7 separate regions of the Homo sapiens genome follow, and all the other regions are linked to region 1. Evidence: promoter capture Hi-C in 16 types of primary human blood cells and fetal thymus (Javierre and others, 2016). All regions are on one chromosome and are shown on one strand. Each heading gives the region's core, a stretch centred on a gene start or on the middle of the fragment in contact. The rest is flanking DNA. Distances are from core to core; before and after follow the strand shown. Region 1 holds the start of RNF138 (ring finger protein 138). Region 2 overlaps ELP2 (elongator acetyltransferase complex subunit 2). Region 3 overlaps RPRD1A (regulation of nuclear pre-mRNA domain containing 1A). Region 4 holds the start of RMP24 (ribonuclease MRP subunit p24). Region 5 holds the start of ZNF24 (zinc finger protein 24). Region 6 holds the start of ZSCAN30 (zinc finger and SCAN domain containing 30). Region 7 overlaps ZNF397 (zinc finger protein 397).

Region 1 (4,050 bases), core at 1,055-3,554:
TAGCTTTTCACCAGAAATGTTGCCAAGAAAGAAGATTGTGTCATTGGTAATTGCAACTTATTTTTTTAAGCTTAACTTTCCAAGGGTATCTATATTTTTCTTATGTCCAAGTTTTTGCTGGATTTCCACATATTGCCAGCTATATGCTTACGTGTATACCGAATGACTTATTAGAATATATGGGGGAGTGATACAAATATGTTTGGATTAGACATAAGTAAAGCTGCCGTTGCAGAGAAAGAATGAAGCAAATAAAATTAGGGTCACAAAATTAATGTTATGGTTAGATATTCCCAATGAATAATGGGAAACACTATTATACAGAAAATACACCTTACTTCCTAAATGGTCAGAATGAATGAAATGAGTGGAATTATCAAAAAAGTAAAATGTAGGCCAGGCACAGTGGCTCAGGCCTGTAATTCCAGCACTTTGGGAGGCCAAGGTGGGCGGATCGCTGGAGGCCAGGAGTTCGAGACTAGCCTGGCCAACATGGCAAAACCCTGTCTCTACTAAAAATGCAAAAATTAGTTTGGCATGGTGGTGCATGCCTGTAATCTCAGCTACTTGGGAGGCTGAGGCAGGAGAGTTGCTTCAACCTGGAAGGCGCAGGTTGAAGTGAGCTGAGATCATTCCACTGCACCCCAGCCTGGGTGACAGAGTGAGATTCTGTCTCAAAAGAAAAAAGAAAAAAAGTGAGTTTTCTTCTCTGGGCTGTTAAAAATTTGAACTCAAAGAACCATTTTATAAGTGAATGTGAAAAGCACCTGAACTACTGCTATTAGCTGCCCCTCTCGTCACGTGCTCTTCCTCCTTCCAGGAAATCTGAAGCTAGTATTAGCTTTCTTGTCTTGCTTCCACTGCGCTTGCTGCTAAGGAGGAAAAGCAACAAAAATACAAAATATAGTTTGGTAGAGGGAATTAGCTATTCATTGGACAAATTATTATTATTCTAGGAATCAATGCTTTTGAGATGTACATTAAAACCCATTTCCTCCATAAAGTTTTCTGTTAACTCTATATATTTCTAATCATTCCATTTCCTATCCTCATTATAGCCATCGTTTAATGCAAAATTTAATACTTTGGCAAATACCATTTTTTCTCTCTCATTCTGATAGATATGTAATAATGTAAACAGGTTGAGAGCAAAGTTCATGACATCTGCATAACACCTAACAATGCCAATGTCAACATAGACAATAAATGGCAGAATTGATTTAAATAGTCCCTTAAATGGCTTCTGTTTATTCATTTAGACCATGGGGGAGGGTTTTAACAAAGGATGGTAATAAAACCTTTCTTTTCTCTGAAGCTAATTGTAGATGCTGTATAATGTTCCAGATTTTCCTTAGCTTCTTTCACGTCATTGTGGATCCCATCTTATCGATTTATCCTTTTTTTGTTCTTCTTTTTTTTTGAGAGTCTCACTCTGTCGCCAGGGCTGGAGTGCAGCGGCGCGATCGCGGCTCACTGCAACCTCTGCCTCCCGGGTACAAGCGATTCTCGTGCCTCAGCCTCCCGAGTACCTGGGATTACAGGCTCCCACCACCATGTCCGGTTAATTTTTGTATTTTTAGTAGAGATGGGATTTCATCACGTTGGCCAGGCTGGTCTTGAACTCCTGACCTCAAGTGATCCAACCGCCTTCGCTTACCAAAGGGCTGGGATTACAGGTGTGAGCCACCGCGCCCGGCCTTTTTTCTTTCTTTTTTTTTTTTTTTTTTGAGACGGAATCTCACTCTGTTACGCAGGTTGGACCATCTTATAGATTATCAATTGTACAGATAATTGCACTCCGGCCTGGGAGACAGAGTGAGTACCTGTCTCAAAAAATAAAATAAAATAAAATAAAATTAAAAAAAACACTTAAATTAGTGAATAACCTTGGTGAAAAGCCACGTCCATGCTTCTACGGCATTTCTCTTCAAAGCTAAAAAAAAAAAGAAAAAATCAAAAATCAACCCAAAGGTGTAGTAGAAGACTGCATCTGCGACCGTATTTAAGCATCGGTCATGCTGTTAAAGGAGAAAGTGGACATCCTCTCAAGGAAACTTTAATCCTGCCCCCAAAGGATTAAAATCCCGTAACAAATATTTGTTTATAACACATCTTGACAAGATCAAAACATTCTGGTAGGGCAAATAGTAAAGACTAAATCTTGAACATTGACGAAAACTTCCTGAAAGGCCCAATGTATTTGACAGGAGAGGTAACTGGGGTCCCGGGCCTAGCGAGGCGGGGCGGGGAGGCGCAGGTGTCACCGCGGGCGCCCAGCTGCTTACGTCACAACCCGCGGAAGGCGCCGTGCGCCGGTTGCTATACAGGCCGCACTTCACACCCCGTGCCTCCCCGCCTCTCCTGGCTCCTCCGCCCAGATCCCCGGCGCTCCCGCGTTCGGTGACGGCCGGGTAGGCTGTAGGCAGCGCAATGCCAAGACAGAGCTGCTGGCGGCGGCGGGCGAATCTCCCTGCACCATGAGCCTCGGCTCCGGCCCCGTTAGGGGCCGATAAGCACAGCGCACGCCGCCCTCCATTTGCCCCGGGGCCTCGGCTGCGAAGATAGCGGCGGCCGGACAGGAAGCTCGAGGAAAGCGCTGGGCCGGGTCTCTACGAACACGTGAAGGAAAAGCAGCTCCGTCCACAACGCCGCTTCGGGGCTCCTAGGTGAGAGTCTCCCCGGCGGAAGCGTGGAGGGGCCGGGGTGCCGGGAAGCGGGGCGGGGAGGAAGCCGCGGACACGGGCTGGGCACTCGGGGCTCGGGGTCGGGGTGAGTAGAGGCGGAAAAGCAGTGAAAAGGGAGGCCTTGGGCGAAGACGGGGGCTGAGGGCGGGGCGCGAGCCCGCGCCTGGAGCCCGGTGAGGGCGTGGCCTAGAGCGTGAGGCCGCGTCCTGGGGCGGGGTGAGGGGCGAGCGGGGCGGGCCCACGGCATGCTGCGAGCCCAGCCTCCCGCCAAGCACCGTCCCCCATCCAGCCCCCTGTGGGAGGAGCCGTGGGAGGGGTCGCCTCTTGCCCGGCGCGTGCGGCAGTAGCGTCTCTGCGTTCGGCCCCGCCCTACCCAGGGCCCCGCCCCCTTCCTGGCGCGCGCTGTATCCTGATGCGATCCCCCTCCCCCCTCCGGGTTCATGTAGGGAGTCGGGCCCCGGGCCGCCACCGTCACCTCGGCCGCTGCCGCTGTCGCCATCGCCTTGTTTCCCCATCCCCCGCCATGGCCGAGGACCTCTCTGCGGCCACGTCCTACACCGAAGATGATTTCTACTGCCCCGTCTGTCAGGAGGTGCTCAAAACGCCCGTGCGGACCACGGCCTGTCAGCACGTGTGAGTAGACGCCCCCTCCCCCTCGCGGAGCCGGGTTGTCGCTTAGGCCCGGCCTCCGGCCCGGGACCCCGGGCTGCCGCCTGGCGGGAACCGAGCCCGCCGCGGCCTGCCCGAGCGTCGCTGCCCCGCGAGGTCCCGTTCCCCGCCCCTCAGAGTCCCGGGGCGGCCTTTTCCTCAGCCTCGGGGCCCGCTCCCCGCGTCCAGCCCCCTCAGCCCAAGCTCCCGCTCTCCCGCTCTCCCGCTCTCCCGCTCTCCCGCTCTCCCTGGCTTTCGCGCCCCCGGGGCAGTGGCCAGGCCGTTCCCTGCGGCGTCTTCAGGCCCCGGAGGCCCCTGTCGTCTCCGCCAGGCCCGGGAGGAATTGCAGGGATCTTGGAGCCTTTTTGTTTCTTAGCAACCCGGGTGAAGGCTGGGGTGTCGAGTGTCAAAAGCGGCCGGCGGTGCTCGCGCGGGCCCGCTCGCCCCGCGACCTGCCCTGCTTTCAAGTTTCCTCTTTCAGAACCTTGGTCCGTCCCCTCGGTCCAAGAGCTCTTCTGTAACTTCCCCTCAACCCTGCTTCACAGAACACCCTCGAGAGCGTTTTGTTTCGTTTCCAGTCCACTATGTGTTAGAGGGATCTAGAATGAGTTTTCTTCTCTGGTCTCTTAAAACTGACAGGATTTTCGGGCATTGAAATGAGCGTTCCCCTTTGTTTTACCTTTCTGCTTACTTATTACTTGATTAATACAAGGGTGGA
Region 2 (4,050 bases), core at 1,026-3,525, 4.0 Mb after region 1:
TTGAATGGATTTGTTTCCATGTATTCCATCAGATTTTAAATGATAACCTGGTGGCTGAGCTAGTGAATTTTAGCATATTGACAAAGAAGTGTTGAGCCTAAAAAGTACTTTGTCCTGTTAAATATTTGCTGGTCGGGCTTTTTTTTTTTTTTTTTTTTTTTGGAGTGTAGTGACAGTAACTGCTCAGTGCAACCTGCAACCTCCACCTCCCGAAATCAAGTGATTCTCGTGCCTCAGCCTCCCTAGTAGCAGGGATTACAGGTGTGCACCCCCACACCTGGCCAATTTTTGTGTTTTTAGTAGAGACAGGTTTTACCACATTGGCCAGGCTGGTCTCCAACTCCTGGCCTCCTGAAGTGCTGGGATTAAAGGCATGAGCCACCACACCTGGCCTCGATTGGGCTTTTAAGTAAATATGGGAATAAAAGCATTTCAAATGCTAAAATAAAGTTTTGGGAATGATGCTCATTCAGCAAATCTTCGACGACCATCTGTGGGCTAGCCCTGGGCTGAGTGATGATGACACAAGGTAATGAGTGATAACGCGCGTGGCCACCAAGGAATTCTCAGTCTAGTGGGAGAGACAGTGAAGTACAGTAAATTGTTTTCCAGCCTCAAATAACCTATATGTGAAATATATTAGTTTATGCACATTTGCCTCTTCCTTTTTCTTAGCCATGAGAATTCTAGTTGGCGTATAAGCAGATACAAAGCCATTGCCGTTGACAACAGATAGAGAAAGGGGCTGTAAAGAGGAAGGTGCAGTAGTCACAGTTAAAATCTTTAATGGTGTGTGAAGTATGAGACCTCCAAGTGTGGGGTGAAGTTGGTGAAAGCAGTCTGTTGAGGATCTGTGGAGAACCTGGCAATAGGCCCTGCAGGAATCTGATGTGTGAGGACCTTAGTAGTTGTGGCCTTGTGACATTGTGCCACTGGGTCTGAAAAACCCACCGTCTCATTGGCCATTGGCATGCAAAGTGAACTGTGCTTGTACCCATTAATCACAGATTCTTCTATTGGAGGGCTTTTTTTTTTTTCTTTTGGTCAGAGAAACCCTCAGATTGGTGCAAGCATAGTAGGCCTACTTCCACAAGGAAGCAGCTGCTTGTCTAGTTTGGTGTGTCAGGACAGGCTGCCTAGGTGAAAAGGATGTGGGCACTGTAGGAGAGTGAGCAGAAGCAGGTGGGTGGATGCAGACGCGAGAGCTCAGTGTAATGGGAGGACAGGATGCTGGGAATGTGGAGTCTCAAGAAAGGCAGGACTGATTTAGAGGAATGGATGACTTAAGCCATGGTTAAAAGTTTATAGATTGAAGAAGGCAAATCTGTTTGATGTAAACCTGATCTTTTTACTAGCATCGAAAACACTGAAATCTGTTTTTACTTATTTATTAATTTTTCTGTAGGATAAATTCCAGTTTACTAACTGTATTTTCTTCTCTAAAGAAAAGGGTTGTTGTTACCAACTTGAATGGTCACACCGCCCGAGTCAATTGCATACAGTGGATTTGTAAACAGGATGGCTGTAAGTATTAACCAGATTTTAAAGTTGATCTCAATTGTTTTCTGATAAAATAAGGTTAGCCATTTTTTTCTCATCACTTCTCTTAATTTAGCATTACCTTATATGATGTTATGCAATTGGAGAAACAAGAAAAATGGTATTCCCAGTGAAATATCTGAACTGTATTTTTACTTCGTAGCAGTTGAAGCTTGGATTATACAGCAGTGCTTAGGATGAGGGTAGTGCAGCCCTAGACTTTGGCAGGATCCTGTCCCACCTCCCCAGTTGCCTGTAACCTTTATTAAAAGAACTTGTAAGCAGGGCCTAGACTGAGGCTGTGTTTTAGAGACTTGGTTTCTTGGTCTGTTTCTGCCATAAACAAGCTATTGGTTTTTCTTTTTATTCTTTTTTCTTTTATTTACTTATTTATTTATTTATTTATTTTTTTTTTGCCAACTAGTTGGAGACTAGAATGTTTATTTTTTTAAGAGACAGGATCTCTCACTTGTTGCCCAAGCTGGAATGCAGCGGCTCCATCAGAGTTCTCTGCAATAGCTGGGACCACAAGTGTGTGGCACCACGCCTTTCTAGTTTTTTAGGGGTTTTTTTTTTTTTTTTTTTTTTTTTTTTTTGAGATGGAGTCTCGCTTTGTCACCCAGGCTGGAGTGCAGTGGCAAGATCTCGGCTCACTGCGAGCTCCGCCTCCCGGGTTCACACCATTCTCCTGCCTTGCTCTGTAGCCCAGGCTTGTCTCGTACTCCTAACCTCAAGCAGTCTTCCCTCTTTAGCCTCCCAAAGTGCTGGGATTACAGGATTAGCTACTGTACCCGGCCAGCTATTGCTTTTTTAGGCAAGACATTGCATCTCTATTGACCCTAGTTTGCACCTTAATAACATGTGAGAAGTAAGAGATTGGACTAGATCAAGGGTGTCTTAGAGGTTTGTAAGACCTATGAGATCAAATTATTTTCATAATGATATCAAGAAGTTATTCACAGTATTCATTCTCATTGTCATGAATGTACAGTGTTTTCCAGCAGCCACATGATGTATGATACTGCAGCAGATTAAATACAGAAGCAGATATGAAAATCCAGCTATATTCTAATAAAATCATATGTTAAAGAGATTTGTAGGAATGTAAAATAGTTCCTCTCTTTCATTAAGTTTTTGTTTTGGAAACCATTGGGGTTTTTCCCCATCAAAATGTTATATATGTTCACACATCATAGAACCCATTGTTATTTTTAAGTAAATGGTTAAACACATATTTTTCATATTTCTCAGTTTTAATTTCTAATGTGGTTAATATTGGTACATATGGTTCATATAATCAAAAGCTTTTTGGGGTCCTCAAAAATTGTAAGACTGTAAAGGAATTCTAAGACCAAAAGTTATGAAAATTTCTGGACAAGATTATCTCCAGGTCTCTTCATCTCTAAGATTCTGACTCCAGAATTTTCAGTTAAAATATTAGTTGCCTTTAGATGGTGCTCCCAAAATCCTATGATATTTCTTTAGTTATCTTAAATATATCTACTGTAGTTTTGATATGGGTTCTGAATTAGTTTTATTTTTCATTACACACTCATTTGAGGGCATTTTGAGCCAGGCACAAATGCAAAATTTTCTGAATTATTAAGACTTTGCTATGATTTTATAAATGATGTTTAAAAAAGTTTTAATAAGCTACTTATTTGCTTCTGTAGGATTAGTCACATGTTAGGTCAATAAAAATCATTAAATGGTACAAGGGATGCCTGTTAGTATGGATAATAAAACATAATTGCAATTATATTAATTGCCACCAGATAACATCAAAGACTGACTTTCAGTATAGGAGTTTGTTATAAAATGTTAATTTAGGCTTGTATGTTTTATCTTCCGTTTAAAAGTGAGGTTACATAAAATGGATTGCTTGTGTATTACTGTAATCTATAACTATTATGATTGATTTCCTTTCATTGAACTGCCAGATAATGCAGATAGCCTTTCCAACCCTTTATCGGTGATATATAAAATTTTAATATCATTTTGTATTTTTAATATGTCTGAATTTTAACATTACTTTTATGTATAGACATTCTTAAAATCATATAGTTAGTTAAGTGGCTCAATTGCTGTGACACATGAAGTTGAAGCCCATGATCACAGTTGGCTGGCAGCAGAGTTAGGACATGAACCTGGGCCTTCTGAGTTCAAATCTAATGCTCTTTAGTCCAGCTGCTTCCCTGAAACAAATAAAAAGAAAATCCAAACCCAAATTAGGTTATTTGCCCCTTTTTTGGTACTACTTTTTCTTTTGTTATCACTGAGAAGTTGCAAGTATTTAAAAGATCTATTTTGAAGTGTGTCTCTAATTTCAACAATAAGTCATATTCTTGGTAGTAGCACCTGACTACAATGTTTCATATAATGTTCCTGCCAAGAGTGTTTAGCCTGCATCTAATCATGAGGAAACAATCAAACAGATTGAGGGACATTCTGCAGAACAAGTGCTGGGTACTGTCATTGTCACAAAAATGAGGGGGACTAGGAAACTATTCT
Region 3 (4,050 bases), core at 1,077-3,576, 4.0 Mb after region 1:
ACAGAAACTCTTTCTTTAAAGGAGACAAAGATAAGGAAGGTAGGAAAAGAAGGGAAACCTTCATAACTGAATGGCTACCATTATCTAACATATATAATTTTACTTATTCATTCTTATATTTTTTTGTTTGTTTGTTTTCTGAGACAGGGCCTTGCTCTGTCGCCCAGGTTGGAGTGCAGTGGCGCACTTGGCTCACTGCAGCCTAAACCTCTTGGGCTCAAGTGACCCCCCAACCTCAGCCTCCTTAGGCCTGCGCCATCATGCCCAGCTAATTTTGGTATTTTCTGTAGAGACAGGGTTTTGCCATGTTGACCACGCTGGTCTCGAACACCTGAGCTCTGGCAATCCACTTCCCTCAGCCTCCTAAAGTGCTGGGATTACAGGCATGAGCCACAGTACCCAGCTCATTCTTTTATTTTAAACAGTAGCTTCTCCCACTCTCACATTTTTGTCTTTACACACTTTGAGAAACTAAAGAATGCCTAGCTTAACACAAAATGTTCAACTAATTTTCTTTAGTTTGTTGTAATATACTTTCAAGATTGATCGATTCCTTTCATAATTATTCTGCAGAAATAATGTGATTCAAGATATGGTAAAATAACTAAAAGAATGTCTGGTACTCAGTAACTGATTGCCATTATCATTAAACTACAGGAGATGAGAATCCTGAAGTTGATGAGCAAAACTGCAGGAAAGGGGAAGGACACAAAGGCTACACCCTGCAAAAGCAGTCATCTGTCAAGAAAAGGAAACCCTTGGCAGAGTAGCCCAGGCTAATATGAGGATTAAAGCGGCAGCGGTATGTTCATCAGCATCACCGTTACTATCAACACTATCATCACTACCACCCTCCTCCTAAAGCATCTTTTTATATGCTTTAACGTTTTCCACTTATGAAACACTTAAACATATGGAAACATCACAAACCTTGCTAAAAGCACATCTTACAATTTTACCACATTTGCACCATTTTCTTAAATACATTAAATATTAGATAGCTTTCTCCTATTGAGAGGTGACAACGTCCTAGCAGCCCTTGCTCGCTCTCGGCGCCTCCTCGGCCTCGGCGTCTGCTCTGGCCGTGCTCAAGGAGCCCTTCAGCCCGCTGCTGCACTGTGGGAGCCCCTCTCTGCGGCTGGCAGAGGCCGGAGCCGGCTCCATCTGCTCTCAGGGAGGTGTAGAGAGAGAGGCGCCGGCAGGAGCCTGGGCTACGCGCGGTTCCGGGTGGGTGCCTGCTGGGCTTGATGGGGGACGAGCTCCCTCTGGGCTGCTAGAGTGCCCAAGCTAGGTGCCGCAAAGTCCCGCGGCGAGTGCCATTGAGAGGTGAAGCCAGCTGGGCTTCTGGGTCAGGTGGGGACTTGGAAAACTTTTCTGTCTAGCTAAAGGATTGTAAACGCACCAATCACCACTCTGTGTCTAGCTCAAGGTTTGTAAACGCACCAATCAGTGCTCTGTGCCTAGCTAGAGGTTTGTAAACACACCAATCAGCACTCTGTGTCTAGCTAAAAGTTTGTAAATGCAACAATCAGTGCTGTGTGTCTCGCTAAAGGATCATAAAACGCACCAATCAGCACTCTGTCAAAACGGACCAATCAGCTCTCTGTAAAATGGACCAATCAGCAGGACGTGGCTGGGGCCAGATAAGAGAATAAAAGCAGGCCACCCAAACCAGCAGCAACAACCCGCTTGCGTCCACTTCCCTGCTGTTGAAGATTTGTTCTTTCACTCTTCACAATAAATCTTGCTGCTGCTCACTCTTTGGGTCCCTGCCGCCTTTATGAGCTGTAACACTCACCGCGAAGGTCTGCAGCTTCACTCCTGAAGCCAGCGAGACCACGAATCCACCGAGAGGGACCAACAACTCCGGATGGAAGGAACAACTCCAGACGCACTGCCTTTAAGAGCTGTAACACTCACAGTGAAGGTCTGCAGCTTCACTCCTGAAGCCAGCGAGACCACAAACCCATCAGAAGAAAGAAACTCCAGACATGTCTGAACATCAGAATGAACAAACTCCGGACACACCATCTTTAAGAACTATAACACCGCGAGGGTCCACAGCTTCATTCTTGAAGTCAGCGAGACCAAGAACCCACCAATTCTGGACACACTATGACAACCACTATCTTGGAATATGGTGTTAATCACTACTATGCATATTTTAATATAGGTATCTATAAACAAAAGAAGTACTGTTTTGCATGTTTTTAGACTTTACCCCCATAGCATTATTCGTCTGTACCTTGTTTTCTTAGCTCAAGATTTTGTTTGTTTTTCAATTCAGTCACGTTGTTTCATGCAGCTCTAGTCCATTCGTGAGAACTTTTCGATAGTATTACATTTTATTAATATCACAATTTATTTGTCCATTCTCAAACTAATGGAATGGTTTTTTTGTTTTCTTATTTTTTGTAAAGAAAAGGTTTCACTATGTTGCACAGGCAGGGTCTCACTTGTTTTCAATTTTGTTATTATGAAGCTGCAATAAACAATTCTTGAGAACAATACTTATTTCTAGAATATATTCCTAGAAAGAAAACTGCTAGGTCAAAGGATATATTTAATATATACCTCCAACTTCATCAACTAAGTTGATCTACAAAATAGTTACATATTTTTACATTCCCACCAAGTGGTATAAGAGTTCCTGTTTCTCTGCAACAATTATCCATATTGTCATATTATTTTGCCAAATTGATGAACATAAAGTGGTACCTCACTGGCTTACTTTTTCCTGATTTGTAAGATTAAGTATCATTTATTGACCTTTCAGGTTTCCTCACGTGAAATGCCTATAAACAGTACTGCCATTTTTTTTTTTTACTGATTTGTAATAGTTATTAAGAGAGTCTGGGTATCAACCCTATACTGATTACATGTGTTTCTAAATGCTCTCTGCAAAAACAAAAAACAAGATAAACCTGTTACCGATTCTGAAATCTAGTAAAATGTAAAAGCAAAGCTAATTCCTGACTTTTCAAAGTTCACAGCTACTTTCCAGACCTTTATATCAGTGTTTCTGAAACCTTTCCGTCCACTCACAGAAGATGAATTCCTCATTCAGGGCCAATACACACATACTTACACATAAACTGAAAAACAAGGCTGTAAATCAATTTCTTCTCAAGGATGGGTGACGTTTTCATAACCACAAACAATATACAAGGACAGATTGTCTCCATTATATACAGCCAACATTTTGGCTCACATTTTGGCTGTTACGTACATACATCATATAGCTTTCACAAGGTTCAGTAAGCAAGCGTCTATTTTGATTAATAACGGTTAAAACCTTTAACACTTGATAAAAAACCATCATATCCATCAGGATGTTTGCAACAATAATGAAGAGTGTCCACTCTACCCAATGAATTAAGAATTAAAGTACAAGCTCAGACTAAGCAAATGAAATTTTTTATTTTCAGTCGCACTAGGATAATTTTTTACAAAGTTGCTCTGCATACATGAACTGATTCTGAATATTTTAGTGACAGACATCTCAAAAAAGTTTACTTCATTTACAGGAACACTATCAAATGTTTTGCAAAACAAAGACACTGCATTAGGGCATATAATCATAGAATAGGAAAGGACTTTAGGTGACTTACTCTAAATCTCTCCTTTTCAGGTAAGGCATCTGCAACGCAGAAGTTATAAGAAACTTGCCCAATTGAGACCCTCTAAAATCTACAAATTCAGAGTCTTTTCCACTGCATTACCCATCTTCTTATATTAGACTTCTAAAACTATTCCTCTATTAATTTCACAAGAATAAGTTGCTGCGTTACAGAAATGACGGAAGTAACTCCCAAACCCACACCAATCTTTTTCTTTCCACTCCCCTACCTTCTCCCTCCCTTATCCTCCATTATCATTCACAGAATGAAAAAAATACCTGACCACCTGAATTTCTGGCCCTAATTGGGTGTGGAGTCCCAACCCCCTGCTACTGTTTCCGTGTTAAGCTAACCGGAGTTTTCTTTTTTAATTATTCATTCCTTTATTCAATAAATATCTAAGCCCAGACTTTGCAGAAGCGTGGTGCAC
Region 4 (4,050 bases), core at 852-3,351, 3.9 Mb after region 1:
TTTTCTTCGGAAAAAGTTAAAATGCCTATAGAGATGTAAATATATACTTTCTCTTTACAAATCTTTATATAATTTAGCCCCCCGCCTCCCGCCTTTTTTTTTTTTTTTTTTTTTTTTAGACGGAGTCTCGCTCTGTCGCCCAGGCTGGAGTGCAGTGGCTGTGATCTCGGTTCACTGCAACCTCCGCCTCCTGGGTTCAAGCGATTCCTGTGCCTCAGCCTCCCAAGTAGCTGGAACTACAGGCGCATGCCGCCACACCTGGCTAAATTTTTGTATTTTAGTAGAGACAGGGTTTCACCGTGTTGCCCAGGCTGGTCGCCGACTCCTGAGATCAGGCAATCCACCCGCTTTGCCCTCCCCAAGTGCTGGAATTACAGGCGTGAGCCACTGCGCCTAGCCAATTTAGCTCCCTTTTAAAATTAAAAATGGGCTGGGCATAGTGTCTCATACCTGTGATCCTAACACTATGGGAGGCTGAGGTGGGAGGATCACTTGAGCCCAGGAGTTCAAGACCAGCCTGGGCAATATAGTGAGACGCCCATCTCTACCAAAATAATAATAATAATAACAACAACAACAACAACAACAACAATACCTACGCATGGTAGTGTGCCTGGTTCCCAGCTACTAGGGAGGCTGAGGCAAGAGAACCCTTTAACCCAGCCCAGGAATTCAAGAATGCAGTGAACTGTGATCACACGACTGCACTCCAGCCTGAGCAACAGAGTGAGATCCCATCTCAGATAAATAAATAAAGCAGGCTAAATAAGGGTCCACTATCCAGAACATACACATTAAAAGAACCTTACAACTTATCAACAAAAAGACAACTCCAATAAAAAATGAGCAAAGAACTTAAACAGCCAAAGATACATAAATTGCCAACAAGCACATGAAAAGCTGCTCAAAAGCATCAGTAGTCAGGGAAATGTTAATCAAAACCACAATGAGATGCTACATCATACTCACTAGGAAGGCTAGATTTAAAAAAAAAAGAAAAAGAAAAGCAAATGTTGGTGAGGATACGGAGAAACTGGAACCCTCATTAAGCACAGAATTACTACATAACCCAGCAGATCTACTCTTAGGTATTATACCCCGAAGAACAGAAAAAAGGCACTCAAACAAATGCATGTACACACATGTTCACAGCGGCATTCATTCATAACAGCCAAAAAGTAGAAACAATTCAAACGTTCAACTGATGAATGGATAAACCATTGTGATACCGCCATACAATGGAATATTATTCAGCCATAACAACGAATGAAGTACTGATACGTGCTGCAAGGTGGATGAACCTGATACATTATGCTAGGTGAAGGAAGCCAGACACAAAAGGTCGTGTGTATGATTCCATTTACATGAAATGCCCAGAATAGGTAAATCCATAGAGACAGAAAGCGGACTGGTGGTTGCCAAGGCCTGGGAGGGAGAGGAGGATTGGCCGTAAGTGCTTCATGGAGTTGGCTGTCCTTCGGCGAAATATTTTGGAAATAGCAGAATGGTGCTTGCACAACATTGTAAATTTACTAAACGCCACTGAATTGTTCACCTTAAAATGGTCAATATTACGTTATGTGAATTTCACTTTAATTACAAAAAGAGAAACGCTAGCGTTTACGCAGGCGGAGGGCAGGCTGGACTGGGGACGCTCCTCCCGGCCGCCTCGTTGCTGGCAGCGCTTCCGCCCGCCGGCGCACCAGTCAGTACCGCGCCCGGCGAATGTGGAGGGCGAAGCTGCGGCAGGGCAATCACAAAAGGGCTGTCAGAGAGGAGGCGAGGCGGGAGGAAGATGGAGAGGCGGGTGGGAGCCTCACCTTTGGACTCTATCGCCACAGCCCGGTCTAGCCGCTACGCCCGAGCTCAAGTCTGACTCGAAACTCCGCTGGGTGCCTGAGAGGACCCGGCAGGCCAAGGGGTGGAACTGAGGGGGCGGGGACGCGGCGGGCGGGTGGGGCCGCCTCCCGGCTGGGCACGCCTCCAAGCCAGACTGGACGCGAAGGAAACCGGAACCTGTCTGCCTACGGTGCCTGTTTCCGGAAGCAGCTTGAGTCCGGACACCAACGACGGGGACGCTGGGAAGCCGACTTCCGGCGCCCTATTTTCTCACCTGGTTCCCGCGGCGAGCCAGCGGCAGCGGCGGCGGCGATGAGACAGAAGCACTACCTTGAGGCTGCAGCGCGGGGACTGCACGACAGCTGCCCGGGCCAAGCCCGCTACCTCCTGTAAGAGGACTGGAGGGGAAGCGGGAGGCGAGCGGGTAGGTGTTCCTTTGCTCCTCACAAGTCTCTTTCTCTTTTACAGCTGGGCCTACACTTCGTCGCACGGTAAGAAGAACGCCTGTCTCTTGTGCTTTGGGCTCTTGTCGCCCCGCTTTCCTCTGTTCCGCACAACGCTCAAATAAGGCCGATGGACTCACTTCCCTCCATAAAAACAACAACAACAAAGCCCGCATGTGTCTCGGTTTCGTGAAAAATCCAAATTCTTTAATGTGCCTTGTCTTGCTTTGTTAGCGGCATTTGACACATTGATCAGTCTTGAAATAGTTTCCTCCCTTGGCTTCTAGGTCATTACGTAGTTCACCTCTTCATTTATTACTTCTCGATTTGCTTTGCTGGTTCCTCCTAATCTCCCCAAGCTTTAAGTATTGTCGTGGCCCAGTACTCAGCCCTTGGACCTCTTTTCTAGGCACACTCGCTTCCTTGGTGACAGTTTTTCATCCAATCTCATGGCTTTTAAATACCATATACTGAGGACTTACAAATGTATATACTCAGCGCAGACCTCTCCTCTGAATTCTAGACTCATATATCCGAATGTCTTCTTGACAAATTCTTTTCAATGTCTAGTAATTCAAACTTAGCTAATATGTCCAAAACCTGAGCTTTAACCCCCAACAAGATCCTCCAGTTTTTCTCATTTCAGTAAATAATTCCATTCTTCCCTTACAGTTATTGAGCCCAAAAACCTTGGAGCTATTCTTGACTCCCTAACTCTCTCTCCTCCCCCAGGCCAGTATGCGAGCAAATCCTGTTGGCTTTAAAATGTAGCCAAAATCAGCCAGGAGCGGTGGCTCACCCCTGTAATCCCAGCACTTTGAGATGCAGAGGCGGGCGGATCATTTGAGGCCAGGAGTTCGAGACCAACCTGGCCAACATGGCGAAACGCTGTCTCTACTAAAAATACAAAAAAATTACCTGGCATGGTGGTGCACGCCTGTAATCCCAGCTACTCGAGAGGGTGAGGCATGAGAATCTCTTGAACCCGGGAGGTGGAGGTTGCAGTGAGCGGAGATGGCGCCATTGCACTCCACTCCTCACCACATCCATTGCTACTACCCTGCTCCAGGCCATCACCAGCTCTCTCCTGGATTAATAAAAGTGAAAGTCCTTTAAAAGGATTGTAAGGCCCTGTGTCATAGACCTGCATACCTCTCTGACGTACTCTTTCCTTCACGCAACTCCAGTCACACTAGGTCTCCTTGCTTTTCTGTTTCAGGGCCTTTGCAGGTACTCTTCACTCTGCCTGGGATTCTTGCCTCACATATCTGCTTTCATGTGAATCCTCCATTTCCCTCTGGTCTCTATAATATCACTCAATGAAGCTTTCCCTAGCCACCTATTTAAAATTACAGTAACTCCATCAATACTTCTATTCCCCCCTCCTATCTTACTTTTTTATTCCCAGCACTTAACATTTGACGTTGTTATATTTATTGTATGCCTCGGTGAATTGTCCTTTGTTCACTGCTGTGTCTCCAGCACTTAGAACAGTGCCTGGCATTCTTAATTGTCACTTAGTGAATATGAATGAGTTTCACATTTGGCAGAGCTAAGTTTAAGTGTGGTCTTTAGCTTTATAAGTGCTGTTGCATCCCTGGCACTTAGCACAGTGCTCAACAGTAGATACTATTCATTGTGCTAATTATTTAAAAAAAGAAACAAAATCGCAGTGCAATTTGTTATTTTGTGGTAAATGCATTGGTAAAATTGGTGAAACATAACAGCCTTTTAAAACTTAGTAGCAAGTAATGAGAAGTGGCTAGAT
Region 5 (4,050 bases), core at 957-3,456, 3.3 Mb after region 1:
AGCTTACAGAATAAGGATATAAATATATTTGTACAGCTGTACAATGTGTTTGTATTTTAAGTGAAGTGTTATCACAAAAGAGTAAAAAAGTTAAAAAAAAATGTAAAAGTTTGTAAGTGAAAAAGTTCCAGTAAGCTAAGGTTAATTATTGAAGAAAAATGTTTTCTTAATAAATTTAGTGTAGCCTAAGTGTTCAGTGTTTATATGGTCTATAGGAATGTACAATAATGTCCCAGGCCTCCAAATTCACCACTCACTCACTGACTTCTTAGAGCAACTTCCAATCCAGCGAGGTCCATTCATGGTAAGTGCCCTGTACAGGCATATCTTTTTTTTTTTTCAAACATTTTATATCATATTTTACTCTTATCTTTTCTATGTTTTGATACACAAATAGTTAGCATTGTGTTACAATTCTCTACAGTATTCAGTACAGCAACATGCCGTACCGGTTTGTAGCCTAGGCGCAATAGGCTATACCAGATAGCCTAAGTGTGTAGTAGGCTACGCCATTTAGGTTTGTGCAAGTACATTCTATGACGTTCACACAAGGATGAAATAGCCTAACATATTTCTCAGACCATAGCACTATCGTTGAGTTATGCATGACCTTATTTACTATATGGCCGCTTACAGAAAAAGTTTGCCAATCATGACCTACTAAGACGACAAACCCTATGTCAATAATCAAAAGAATCCAAGTAAGAACCAGACTACTTCAGTGCTTTCTAAATGTGCCTGACCCTGGAACGCATTATTTCCAATTCAGGATTGGTGTTTCCTGACACACACAAGTCAACTCAAAAGGAAGGTTCGCTTTATTATTATGTGCTTAAAAAAATTTTCTTTACCATTTAAAAAATATTTTTAAGGTGTTTAAGAACTCCTTGGACTTATATGTGAAAAAATGTTCACTTGCTGAGTAGCAGATCACATAATATTGAAAAGATCATATGTGAAAAACATCACATAATTTTGAAAAATTATCTTGCACATAATACGTAAATATTCAGTCTTCCACCACACCATACGTACATTTATATTTATAATGATAGGCATTAATCACAGAAACTTCTATTAAGAAAAGGCACTCGCATAAGCACCTTGACTTCCTGCAGTGGTCCAGTGTCTTGTCCTTACACTGGAGGACTCACAGTTTCCCCAGCTTCTACCTTCAGTGAAACTGTATACTGCTTCTGGACCTTTATTATTTGCACGATCATGCCCGTGCTGTTGTTTACGACACATACTAGCAATGAGCCATTCAGCCTATTTATTTATTCAGGGCCCAAAATCTGAACAATAACAACTTAAAAAAACTTATTGTAACCCAAGCAAGATGAAGACTAGAATCAGAAAAGGCCTTATCAGACAAGTAATACATACTGGTTTAATTAAATACCCTGGAGTGTGGTGGCCTTATACATAAGGTCTAGCCAACATTCATTCGTTCCTATTCCAAGACCCTGCTTATCAACGGTGCAAGTATTTCTACATAATTTTCTCTTCCTTTTATGCTGTAGAGCATACCGCTTGTGGGAAATGGAGGGAAGGCCCACGGTCCCGACAATGTTTGGGCAGGGTACCTCGTCCCAGGTGGATCGCCCACCTTACTGCTGCATAGACCTGCTGTGTATCCCGGCCCCGGCCCCGGCCCCGGCCCGACGTCCTCTAGCCCCTCTTCCCAGCACTCAGGACCGCGGATTTCAGATGACCAAAGGCCACCCTGTGACAACAGCGTCGGAACCACGGCACTTCCGCCTGCGGCCGGTGAGACTACAAATCCCAGAAGCCCCGCGCAAGTCTCGTCCCACTACCACCCCCTCCCATCACGACTCCCAGAACCCTCCGCGAGACGCCAGGGCCTCGAAATAGAACAAAACCGGCCGGTGGGGGAGGGGGAAGGTGAGGGTCTCGGAGGACACAGGGGGTTAGAGAGCTCTCTGCAAATGCCGAAGACCCAAGCAGGCCTGCCGCCTACCCCTCCCCGCCCCACAACTGCTAGGCGCGGAGACCGCGGCCTGTTCCCCGCGCCTCCCGGGAAGCTGAGGAAGGTCCCGGACAGGCTTCCCCGCCGGCTCCTGCTAAGAGGTCCGCAGACCCTAGCCCGGTGTCCCCCCTCCCTCTCATAACGTTCCCCGCACACCGGCGCAAACCTCCGGCTCAGGAACCGCAGCAGCTTCGCTGTCCACGGCAGACGCAGAAACGCCGTTCACAAGCCTTTTCCCAGAAGCCCCCGGCGCGGGCTGCTTCCGGTCTGCGGGCCTGAGGAGGCGGGGAGAGGTAAAGCCCACGTTGCCATGGAGAAGCGCCCCGGGCGGGGGAGGGGCGGCCCCACGACAATGACCGCATTGAGGCTGCGCTTGGCCTCGCGCCTCTCCTCGAACAGCCCAGCGTCCTCTGGACCGTTTAAAAGAAAACATAAAGAGGACTCTACCATTAAGATAGTCCTTACAATTTCGCAAGCCCTTTCACGTGCATTATCTTGTGGATCCTCTCAGTAATCCCCTGCAAGAAGGAATGAAAGTGAGTGTTTGTGAAAGCTTACTACATTGTGCCAGGCGCTCTCGTCGTGCTTTACATGTCATTTTTTTTTCCACAAATAAATGATGTAGGAACTTTCATTATCCCCATTTCACAGCTGAGATAGTTGAGGCACAAATACAGTAAATAACCTGACAAGAGCTCACAACTCATTTGTGGGTAGCAAGATTTGAAACCAAGACGTGATTCAAATCTTTGGCTCCCACTAGTTATGTCATGGAGCTTTATTCCGACCTATTTATCTGTCAGGAAAACTAGATAAGACAGGTTAAGAGTTTTGGCAGTGATGTCACGGTGAATTTGTAGAATGCATGGTCATCTTAAAGCTGGGCATTTTATACCATAAAACAACTGCTGACGCGATCATTTAAAATTACAAATCAGACCACTTCACTCCCCTATTTAAAGCCCTCCAATTTATGTCATAATAATTTATGACATAAAAACTCCTTATAATGGCCTGTAAGTCCCCTGTGGTCTGTTGCCTGCCCGCACCCCCAGACCCTGGCGCCCCCAGTCACCTCAGCTCCTCGGCTCATTGTGGCCCAAGATCCTCAGCCTCACCACCTGCCTTTCATGGCGCATGACCCTTCATGGCACTGTTATTAATGGAAGTGATCTCATTTATTTACTTGTTTTATTTTTTGTTTTGTTTTGTCTTTAAGTCCCTTAAGGGCAGGGACCTTGTCTGTCTTGCTCACCACAGTATCCCATCCTAGATCCTGGAAGCTGACTGCCTGGTAAATAGAGAACTCAATAAATATTTGTTGAATAAATAAATGAATTGTGGGATGGTTACATTGCTGCCTTTAGCTAGGTCACATGATTGGCATCAGACACCACACAAAGGAGCCCTGTTGTTTAAGGACTGGTCAAAAGTGTAGATCCAGCCTAACATAAGCATTTCAAGATCCTCAGGCTTTGACTTTTTGCCTCATTGGAGAAAATGCCCTCTGAAAAGTGCCGTCAGGCTCCGCTGGATTCGTGCATGAGAGAGCAAGTGAGCGAGCAGCTGATGGTATACCACTGCTTTTCATTCCGACCAGAGCTCTTCTCACAACCCCTGCTAACACTTCTCTCCATTGCAGGAAGCTTCAGAAGTACAGCCTTTTCACTCTGCTACTTGGATACGGCCCCTAAGCAACTTGGCTGCTCTTCCCAACCTTTCCCTCTTATCTGATTTGTAAAGGCTAGCTGAAGGCATTTTTGTTTTAAGAGTTTTTACATCTAATTAATGTTGGAAAACAAAAATAATAAATCTGAAACCTAACCTTGAGGAAGTTAAAAATGTTGCAAAATTTTACAAAACCCTTTTCCTGTGATTATATTGTTTGTTTTGTTTTTGAGACAGGGTCTTGCTCTGTCACCCAGGCTGTAGGGCAATGGTGCAGTCTTGGCTCACTGCAGCTTCAACCTCCCAGACTCAGTGATCCTCCCGCCTCAGCCTCCTAACTGGGCATTTTATACCATAAAACAGCTGTTGATGCAATCATTTAAAATTACAAA
Region 6 (4,050 bases), core at 977-3,476, 3.2 Mb after region 1:
GCTGGGACCACAGGCACACACCACCACATCCGACAATTTTTTGTATTCTGGGTGGAGAAAGGGTGTCACCGCGTTGCCCAGGCTGGTCTCCAGCTCCTAGACTCAAGCAATCCACCCACCTTGGCCTACAAAAAGTGCAGGAATTACACGCTTGGGCCATGGCACCTGGCCACAAAGCATATATTTGACAAAAGACTAGTGTCCAGAATGGACGAAAGATTTGTACAGATACTTCACCAAAGAATATATACAGATGGCATATAAGCACATTACAAAATGCTAAATATTATTAGTCAGTATGGAAATGCAAATTGAAACCACAGTGAGATACACAGTGAGTTGGTAAGGATGTGGAGGAACCGGAACTCTCATGTACTCATGTTAGGAATGCAAAATGATACAGCCACTCTGAAAAGTAGTGTGGGTTTTTTTAAACATTAAATGTACATCTACCATGAGAGAGGGGGAAAAAAGCATATGTCCATATAAAGACGTGTGTACATGAATGTTCTCAGCTTTACTTGTAACAGTAAAAACCTGGAATAACCCAAATGCCCATGAACTGGTGATTGGATAAACAAACTGTGGTATATACATACAATGGAATATTATTCAGCAACAAAAATTAACTATTGATACACACAGCAATAAAGATAAATCTCAAAATAAAAGCTTAGTGAAACAACTCTGACAAAAACAAGGACATTCTGTATGATTCCATTTAAATAAATATCTAGAAAATGCAAACTAATCTCTAGTAACAGCTGACCAGTGGAGGGGGCATTGGGAGAGAGGCTTACCAACGGGCAGGAGGAAACTTTTGGGGTTTAGATGTAATAAACATATTATTTTGATTGCAGTGATAGTTCCACAGCTGTATTCATTTAACAAGCCTTATCAAATTATATCCTTTAAATATTTGCTGTTTATGTCAGTTATACCTCAATAAAGCTGTTTTGTTTTGTTTTGTTTTGTTTTGTTTTGAGACAAAGTCTCGCTTTGTCACCCAGGCTGGAGTGCAGTGGCGCAATCTCGGCTCACTGCAACCTCCGCCTCCTGGGTTCATGGGTTCACGCGATTCTCCTGACTCGGCCTCCCAAGTAGCTGGGATTAAAGGCGCACACCACCATGCCCAGCTAATTTTTGTATTTGTAGTAGAGACAGGGTTTCACCTTGTTGGCCAGGCTGGTCTCCAACTCCTGATCTCAGGTGATCCACCTGCCTCAACCTCCCAAAGTTTTAGGATTACAGGCCTAAGCTGCGCCTGGCCAAAAAGAAAGCTGTTTTTTTAAAACTATCTGCACTCCCTACTTGGGAGGGTTGGACTCAAGTTCCCACATCTCTTTCCTCTTACGGTTATATTAAGGGCTTAGTCATACATCCCTAAATTTCATATATCCCAACAGGGACTTGGGCTGGGACAGGAAGCCCTCTTCCTCCACCTCAACTACCACTTAGCCACCCACCATTTTCTCAAACCTCTTCCTTTCCCCACCGGACAGCTTAAACCAAGTCACACGTCTCATTGGTCTCAACAGAAATGAGGTCCCAACTCCTCATTTCCCAAGATATTTCCATGAACACAGCAATATCCTTTCCTACCCTGATTACCCCGCACCCTCCATTTCGGGTCCTTCTCACCCTGATCAGTGAGAATTGTTCTAGCAAGCAAACCTTAAATAGACCTCGTACCCTTTCTAGATTGCAAAGTAGATAAAAATCCAACTTTCCGTTAATTCAGGGATTAATTACTGAGCATCACTTATTTCTTGGGCAGTGGTTCTCAAAATGTGGTCCCAGGACCAACAGCTTCAGGATCACCTGAGAACCTGGGCTGCCACCGCCCCCTCCCCCACTACTAAATCAGCAACTCCGGAGTTGTGGGGCAGAAGTCAGTATTTTAACAAGGCCTCCAGGTGATTCTGATGCGCGCTACTCTTCTGGGGGTGTGAAAAACCAGAGAGGACAGGAAGAAAGTTAGAATTAAAGCATACCTACGAATCAGATAAGCGATAGGGGGAGGGGTGGTTATTTAAAAAACGATAACTAATTAAGAACTTGTATGTAGTAAGAAAACCTACCCTGCCCCAGAGAGCTTTCCCGAAAGATAATGGATTCCGACATTCACCTCAAGAACCGGCAGACAGAGCAGCAAAGGATCTGTCGCTGGCCAAGCAGGTCCCTGGCTAAGGCACTGCTAGGGACAGCTCGCGGCGGTTCGGGGGTTAATTCTCGGCAGCCCTCCGTCACCCGGTGCCCCACCCCCGCCCTGCGCCTGCGCGGTGAAGCGCCATAGAGCTGAGCACTCCTCCCAGATTCCTAGAGCGGACAGGGCGATGGCAGGTTCGCCGGGTGTGAGGCTTCACAGCGGTCCGGTGACCAAGTCGAGGTAAGGGTGATGTCGGCTCGCGGATAGCAGAGGAGTTCCGGGTGATCTTGCCTAACGAGCAGGAAACTGTGCATGGTTTCTCGAGTCCTTGGAGAGTGAAGGCCCCCGGGGTCGCTCCCGGGCACGGAGAGACGATTGGTTCACGGCCTAGTGTTCGGTTTGTTCCCAGTCAGCCCTTGCTGGCCTTGGGTTCAACCGAATGAACGCCAGAAACTCTGTGGGGTGGGGGGAGTCACCAACCGTGGTGCATCCATACGAATCAGCCTACCGTACTGGGAAAGAGCCACCTGAATTTGTGAATGTTGTAAAAGCAAAAGGAAGAAAAATGATCAGTAGTGTCATTTTTGGATAGGAAGGGCAGCGAATAACATAGTGTTAACCACTAGAATTCACTGTAAAATTCCCCTCTCTGCGTTATCTTTCCAGTTATACCTTTTTTTGGTAGCATTAACCCCTAATTTTGTTTGAACATCTCTAGACTTGGAATGGGGAATGTGTGTCTTAAGTGGGTTAATCCCTGGCTCTTGGATGATGGGGAGGAAGCCTAATACATTCTGAGAGAAAAGCAACTGGAAGTCAAATGAGATTTTTTGTTTTCTCCTTCTTTTATATCTTGAGGATTTTTCTGGTGGTCTAGTCTCAGAGATTACATCTGTAGTCAGCACAATGATTCCCTTCCAAGCCCAGTGGTGCCCAGTTGCCTCCAGGTCCCAGACCTTTATGTGGACAAGAAAAGCTTACAGAGGAAATGGTAATTCTCCACTTGCACACTGAGGTGTCCAGTTGCAGCCCATGGAGATCCAGTTCAATTATGAATCTCAGGAACACCACCTTCTGTCAGGTGAGAGGCAGGGTATTATATCTTTCTTAGTGGCTTTGGCGGGGTGGGGAGGATGAGGGGGTGTCACTCTATGCTAGTGTCTTCAAATGATCCCCCTTAACTCTGTTAGGCAGTATTACCTCTTTAGTGTACCAAGCATAGTCACATGACTTTATTTCAAAATCTGGCGATCAAATTCTCATGCAGCTCTCTCCACTTTTTTAAGACCCCAAAGTCATTCATTTTTCCCTGTATAATGACCTCATTGCTAATCTGTCAGTTTTGGTCATTTTTCTTATCTACTGTAGGGGCATAGTTAAAAGTTCTGGAGTCTGACAACCTAGATTCAAACAGTAGTTTTGTCACTTAACTGGCTCCAGTAAGTTACTCATATATTTTACGATTCTGTTTCCTCACTTTTCAAGTGCATAGTACTTCATACCTTGAAGTTATTTTGAGATTTGTATCTATGTATTACTCCAGAATAAAGAACCCCAAAATTTAGTGACCTAAAACATCAGACTTCTTAAACCACATTATTTCTTATGATTCTGTAGGTCATCAACTTGAGCTGGGTTCACCTGGGCATTTTTTTTTCTCTTGGTCTTTTCTGGGGTCATTTTGCAGTCATCTCAAGGCTGACTCTACTGGGGCCAGGGTCTAAGATGGTTTCAATCACGTTGTCTCAATGTCAAACTGTTAGTGCCGGCTATGGCTTGAGTCCTCATGTCTTCAGCAGGTGACGCTGGACTTTTTCACAGGACAGCTTGTTTCCAGTCAGAGAAGGCAAGCTCTTTTCATACCTATGTTTGTGTTTCATCTGTTAATGTGTTTCATCTGT
Region 7 (4,050 bases), core at 476-2,975, 3.2 Mb after region 1:
ACTATGAGTAAGAGAAAGCCAGGTAAATAGGTGGGAGGAGGAGTAGCCCAAGTAAAGGCCATACCATCCCGAAGGTGTGAGAATATAACCCATTCTGAAAATTGCAGGTAGTTTAATTTGACTTGAATGGAGAATTGACAGGTGGTAAGAGAAGAACCAGAGAGGAAAATAGGATCCAAGTCATGAAGACCTGTATGTCATGTTAATTTGTTTGTATAGTTTCTTAAGTGCAGTGGGATGCAGTTGAAGGATTTTGGACAAGGAGTGACATAGTTTGATTTGCAGTTTAGAAGTTAGCTGCAAATGGAGAATCATGTAAGGAAGGCAAGAGTATAGTCCTATTAAAGACTGCTGTAATCCAAGTGGCCACAGTGTATTCAATCAATATGTGTTATGGTAAGCGGTGGAGAACATAAAAGCTGACTCCTGTTCAACAGCATTTAAGTTGTTTTGCAACATCTGGTAATTATTAAAACTAGAGTGTGAGGGAGAGGAGTTGAGGATGATACTGAGGTTTCAGTCTTCAACAGTCTGGTTAATGGTAGTACTGTTCATGTGAATGAGAAAACATAAGGAAAAACAGATACATCTGATGATGTGTTTAGGTTGGTACATTTGGTGCTTGTGAAATATTCAAAAGTAAAATGCCCAATTAGCATAAGACTCTAGAGCTTAATAAAATATGGATATAATTGGGGATCTGGGCAGACATTAGTCAGACAATAGCTTACAATGTAAGATGTAATGGAAGCCAAGGGTAGAGAGTTTGTAGAGTAAGGATACATGAGAGCCCAAAACAGAATCTGGAGGAACGCTCGTGTTTGAGTGATTTACCCTAGAATCTAAGAAGGAACAGCCACAGAAATCAGGCTAATATCACTGGAAGAGAATGTCTCTAGAAGGAAGGTGTGATCCTCAGTGTCAATGCTACAGAGAGGCTAAGTAATAATCTAGAAAGTACTTAGTGGATTAAAGAGCTATGAAGTGATCTTGATGAGAGTAGTATCAGTGGAAGTAGGGGACGGGGCGGTGGGGGGCGGGGGAGGACAGTAAGGCAGAAACCAGATTGTGGAATGAGGATACTTTCACTTGAAAGGCTGCAGACAACTCTTTCAAGAAATCACTATGAGAGAGTGAGGTTGCGAAACCACTTGAGAGAGAGTGAGGTTGCTTGAGGGAGATATGTAGGCAAGAAGGTTGATTTTAAAAGGTGAGAGACACTTAAGCTTATTTAAAAGCTGATGAACAGGAATCAGTTGAGAAAGAGATTGTAAATAGTAGAAAAAAATTGTAGGTAATTTATCAGTTGATGTCTCAAAAGAGGCAGGAAAGGATGGAATTCGAAGTGTAGATGTAGACTTTATTATTAGATAAGAGAGACCCTCTTTTGGCCAGTTGAAAAAAAAGATACTGGAGGACAGTGACATCTTTGTAGGTAGAAGCTTCTGTTTTCTCTCATGTAGAAAGTTTTGACGGTGACAAGAGAAATGTAATATCTGTTTTTTTGCTACTTATTGTTTCAGATTGTGAGAACAGTGAAACAGCAACAAAAGAGGGCATCTCAGAAGAAAAATCACAGGGACTCCCTCAGGAACCTTCATTTCGAGGAATTAGTGAGCATGAAAGCAATTTAGTGTGGAAGCAAGGAAGTGCTACAGGGGAGAAACTAAGATCTCCTTCCCAAGGGGGCAGTTTTAGTCAAGTGATCTTCACAAACAAATCTCTAGGAAAGAGAGACCTTTATGATGAGGCTGAAAGATGCTTGATTCTAACTACAGACTCTATAATGTGTCAGAAAGTTCCTCCAGAAGAGAGACCTTATAGATGTGATGTATGTGGGCACAGCTTCAAGCAGCATTCCTCTCTAACACAACATCAGAGAATCCATACTGGAGAAAAGCCCTATAAATGTAACCAGTGTGGGAAGGCCTTTAGTTTGAGGTCCTATCTTATTATTCATCAGAGAATTCATAGTGGTGAGAAAGCATATGAATGTAGTGAATGTGGGAAAGCTTTCAATCAGAGCTCAGCCCTCATTAGACATCGGAAAATCCATACTGGTGAGAAAGCTTGTAAATGTAATGAGTGTGGCAAAGCATTCAGTCAAAGTTCATATCTCATTATACATCAAAGAATTCACACTGGTGAGAAACCTTATGAGTGTAATGAATGTGGGAAAACCTTTAGCCAGAGCTCAAAACTCATTAGACATCAGCGAATTCACACAGGAGAGAGACCCTATGAATGTAATGAATGTGGAAAAGCTTTCAGGCAGAGCTCAGAGCTGATTACTCATCAGAGAATACATAGTGGAGAGAAACCCTATGAATGTAGTGAATGTGGAAAAGCTTTCAGTTTGAGCTCAAACCTTATCAGACATCAGAGAATTCATAGTGGGGAGGAACCTTATCAGTGTAATGAATGTGGCAAAACTTTCAAAAGGAGCTCAGCCCTTGTTCAGCATCAGAGAATTCATTCTGGGGATGAAGCTTATATATGTAATGAATGTGGGAAGGCTTTCAGGCACAGATCGGTCCTTATGCGCCATCAAAGAGTCCACACTATAAAGTAATTTGTGAATACTGTGAATAGTGTAAATACTTCAGTCAGATTTTTAAGTTTGTTAGTCAAAAGAGTTTACTTTGGAGCAAAACTCCATAAAGGTTATAAAATACTAGGTCTTGAGTCTAGCTTGCTTTGTGCAGCATTTCCCAGTGCTAATGTAAAGTGTCCCTTGAAAGCTTTTCCTGTGACTAATCAGAACAGAATACAGAAGAATCATTACTTCCAGCTCTTCTCTTATTAGGAATACTCAGGAAATACGAAAAGTGGGAATGTAACATTGAAACCTCATTTTGTATGAAAGTGTCATGAATATAGCAACCCAGGCTCTGTCACTGCATCTGATTGTTAGTGTGCCAGGTTATGGGGCTGGTGTGGACTGTGTGAGGCACTTCGTCTCAGGAACTAAAAAAAAAAAAAAAACTGACCCAATAAAGAACAGTGACAGAGCAGCAGGAAAGGTGGGGAAATGGCTTCATCAATGATTTGTTGAGCCCAGGGCAGGCCAGGAATTAGATAGGCATGAGAAGAAAGAATATAATTTACCCAAAGGTTATTTTTTGAGTACCTACTTTGTCCCAGGAACTAGGAATACAGTGGAAAACAAGACTGTAGTCTCTACAGTCTAATGGGCAAGGCAGCCAGACAGGCAGTGAAAGTGGAATGCTCCTATGTGACCTTAAGGAGCACCTGACTCAGCCTTGGATAAGGAAATGGGGGAAATGGCCTGAAGGATGAGGAGGAGTTAGCCAAGGTGGTACTCTAGGGAAGTGGTACCCCAGTAAAGAACAGTAGCCAAAGGCCAGAAACAAAGTGTGGAGCATTCCTTGAGTTCCTGTTGTAGTGAGGTCTTGTCTGTCAGAGAAGTCTGGGTCTGGCCAGACTCTTAAGCAGTGCCAATGGAGAAGTTCCTGTTAATAGACAAAACCTGGAGCCCTTGGGCCACAGGGTAGTCAAGAGCTTTGTCTTGGTTTATGTGACCCCAGGGAAAGGGCAAATATGTGGTTTCCTTGCCCAACCTGTAGGCTATCCTAGAACTTCCATGAGGGTGGTGGTGGGAATGAGGGTGAGAAAGAGCCCAGCCTATACCTCAAGAGTCTGCTAGAGTGTTAAGACTCTATTCTCCTTTGATTCTAAAGACAATATCAGAGCTGCTGTCAGGTTTCTTAAAATTCCCAACGCTCTGGATCAGAAGCTGCCATATCATTTGTTTCTGGGGCTATACGCCCACAATTCCTAGTACATTCCCTTGGGCTTTGGTGCTCAAAAAATATTTGTCAGTTGCTGGGTCTGTGACATTCTTTGGGCACCTCGCACATGTTCAGTTTTGTCTTATGTCACCAGTATTTCACAATATCTTTTGCAATTTTTTTTTTTTTTTTTTTTTTTTTGAGATGGAGTTCGCTCTTGTCCAGGCTGGAGTGCAATGGCACGATCTTGGCTCACCGCAAACTCTGCCTCCTGGGTTCAAGCGATTCTCCTGCCTCA

The links. The method cuts DNA at HindIII sites, captures the fragments that hold promoters and counts their contacts. A CHiCAGO score of 5 or more calls a contact.
Region 2: a fragment that was not itself captured here is called in contact with the fragment with the promoter of RNF138 in region 1 in 1 of 17 cell types (non-activated CD4 T cells); the score reaches 5.4 in non-activated CD4 T cells.
Region 3: a fragment that was not itself captured here is called in contact with the fragment with the promoter of RNF138 in region 1 in 1 of 17 cell types (non-activated CD4 T cells); the score reaches 6.1 in non-activated CD4 T cells.
Region 4: a contact is called between the fragment with the promoter of RMP24 here and the fragment with the promoter of RNF138 in region 1, in 3 of 17 cell types (activated CD4 T cells, total CD4 T cells and non-activated CD4 T cells). The highest score is 7.9, in activated CD4 T cells.
Region 5: a contact is called between the fragment with the promoter of ZNF24 here and the fragment with the promoter of RNF138 in region 1, in 1 of 17 cell types (total CD4 T cells). The highest score is 5.4, in total CD4 T cells.
Region 6: the fragment with the promoter of ZSCAN30 here is called in contact with the fragment with the promoter of RNF138 in region 1 in 1 of 17 cell types (activated CD4 T cells); the score reaches 5.5 in activated CD4 T cells.
Region 7: a fragment that was not itself captured here is called in contact with the fragment with the promoter of RNF138 in region 1 in 1 of 17 cell types (non-activated CD4 T cells); the score reaches 8.2 in non-activated CD4 T cells.

What each region holds. Positions count from the first base shown.
Region 1 is chr18:32,089,570-32,093,619 of GRCh38, forward strand. It overlaps RNF138 (ring finger protein 138), which reads left to right and starts at 2,305. Exons shown (of 8, transcript NM_016271.5): 1 at 2,305-2,666; 2 at 3,131-3,317. The coding sequence starts at 3,208. It overlaps LOC124904278 (a long non-coding RNA gene), which reads right to left and starts at 2,376. Exons shown (of 2, transcript XR_007066327.1): 1 at 2,286-2,376; 2 at 1,706-1,933. It also overlaps a transcript of RNF125 not described here. RefSeq lists an enhancer at 2,004-2,053 and a silencer at 2,724-3,143. The HindIII fragment of the contact is 10,157 bases long and covers 69-4,050 here.
Region 2 is chr18:36,131,793-36,135,842 of GRCh38, forward strand. ELP2 (elongator acetyltransferase complex subunit 2) reads left to right here. Exons shown (of 22, transcript NM_018255.4): 2 at 1,446-1,524. Among named protein-coding and RNA genes, the nearest start is that of ELP2, 3.9 kb to the left of the region's middle. The HindIII fragment of the contact is 1,132 bases long and covers 1,710-2,841 here.
Region 3 is chr18:36,063,063-36,067,112 of GRCh38, forward strand. All of the region lies in intron 1 of RPRD1A (regulation of nuclear pre-mRNA domain containing 1A), which reads right to left. Among named protein-coding and RNA genes, the nearest start is that of RPRD1A, 2.5 kb to the right of the region's middle. The HindIII fragment of the contact is 5,831 bases long and covers 1-4,050 here.
Region 4 is chr18:35,970,578-35,974,627 of GRCh38, forward strand. RMP24 (ribonuclease MRP subunit p24) reads left to right here and starts at 2,102. Exons shown (of 5, transcript NM_031446.5): 1 at 2,102-2,228; 2 at 2,308-2,330. The coding sequence starts at 2,152. LOC105372066 (a long non-coding RNA gene) reads right to left here and starts at 1,874. Exons shown (of 4, transcript NR_188032.1): 1 at 1,821-1,874. RefSeq lists silencers at 1,589-1,883, 1,823-1,972 and an enhancer at 1,892-2,784. The HindIII fragment of the contact is 7,007 bases long and covers 1-2,639 here.
Region 5 is chr18:35,342,214-35,346,263 of GRCh38, forward strand. ZNF24 (zinc finger protein 24) reads right to left here and starts at 2,207. Exons shown (of 4, transcript NM_006965.4): 1 at 2,147-2,207. LOC124904283 (a long non-coding RNA gene) reads left to right here and starts at 1,841. Exons shown (of 2, transcript XR_007066337.1): 1 at 1,841-2,526. RefSeq lists an enhancer at 1,525-1,584 and a silencer at 2,265-2,434. The HindIII fragment of the contact is 2,541 bases long and covers 1-2,541 here.
Region 6 is chr18:35,288,003-35,292,052 of GRCh38, forward strand. ZSCAN30 (zinc finger and SCAN domain containing 30) reads right to left here and starts at 2,227. Exons shown (of 4, transcript NM_001112734.4): 1 at 2,082-2,227. It also overlaps the pseudogene ZNF271P. RefSeq lists an enhancer at 2,344-2,503. The HindIII fragment of the contact is 2,453 bases long and covers 671-3,123 here.
Region 7 is chr18:35,243,739-35,247,788 of GRCh38, forward strand. ZNF397 (zinc finger protein 397) reads left to right here. Exons shown (of 4, transcript NM_001135178.3): 4 at 1,524-4,050. The coding sequence ends at 2,572. Among named protein-coding and RNA genes, the nearest start is that of ZNF397, 4.7 kb to the left of the region's middle. The HindIII fragment of the contact is 570 bases long and covers 1,441-2,010 here.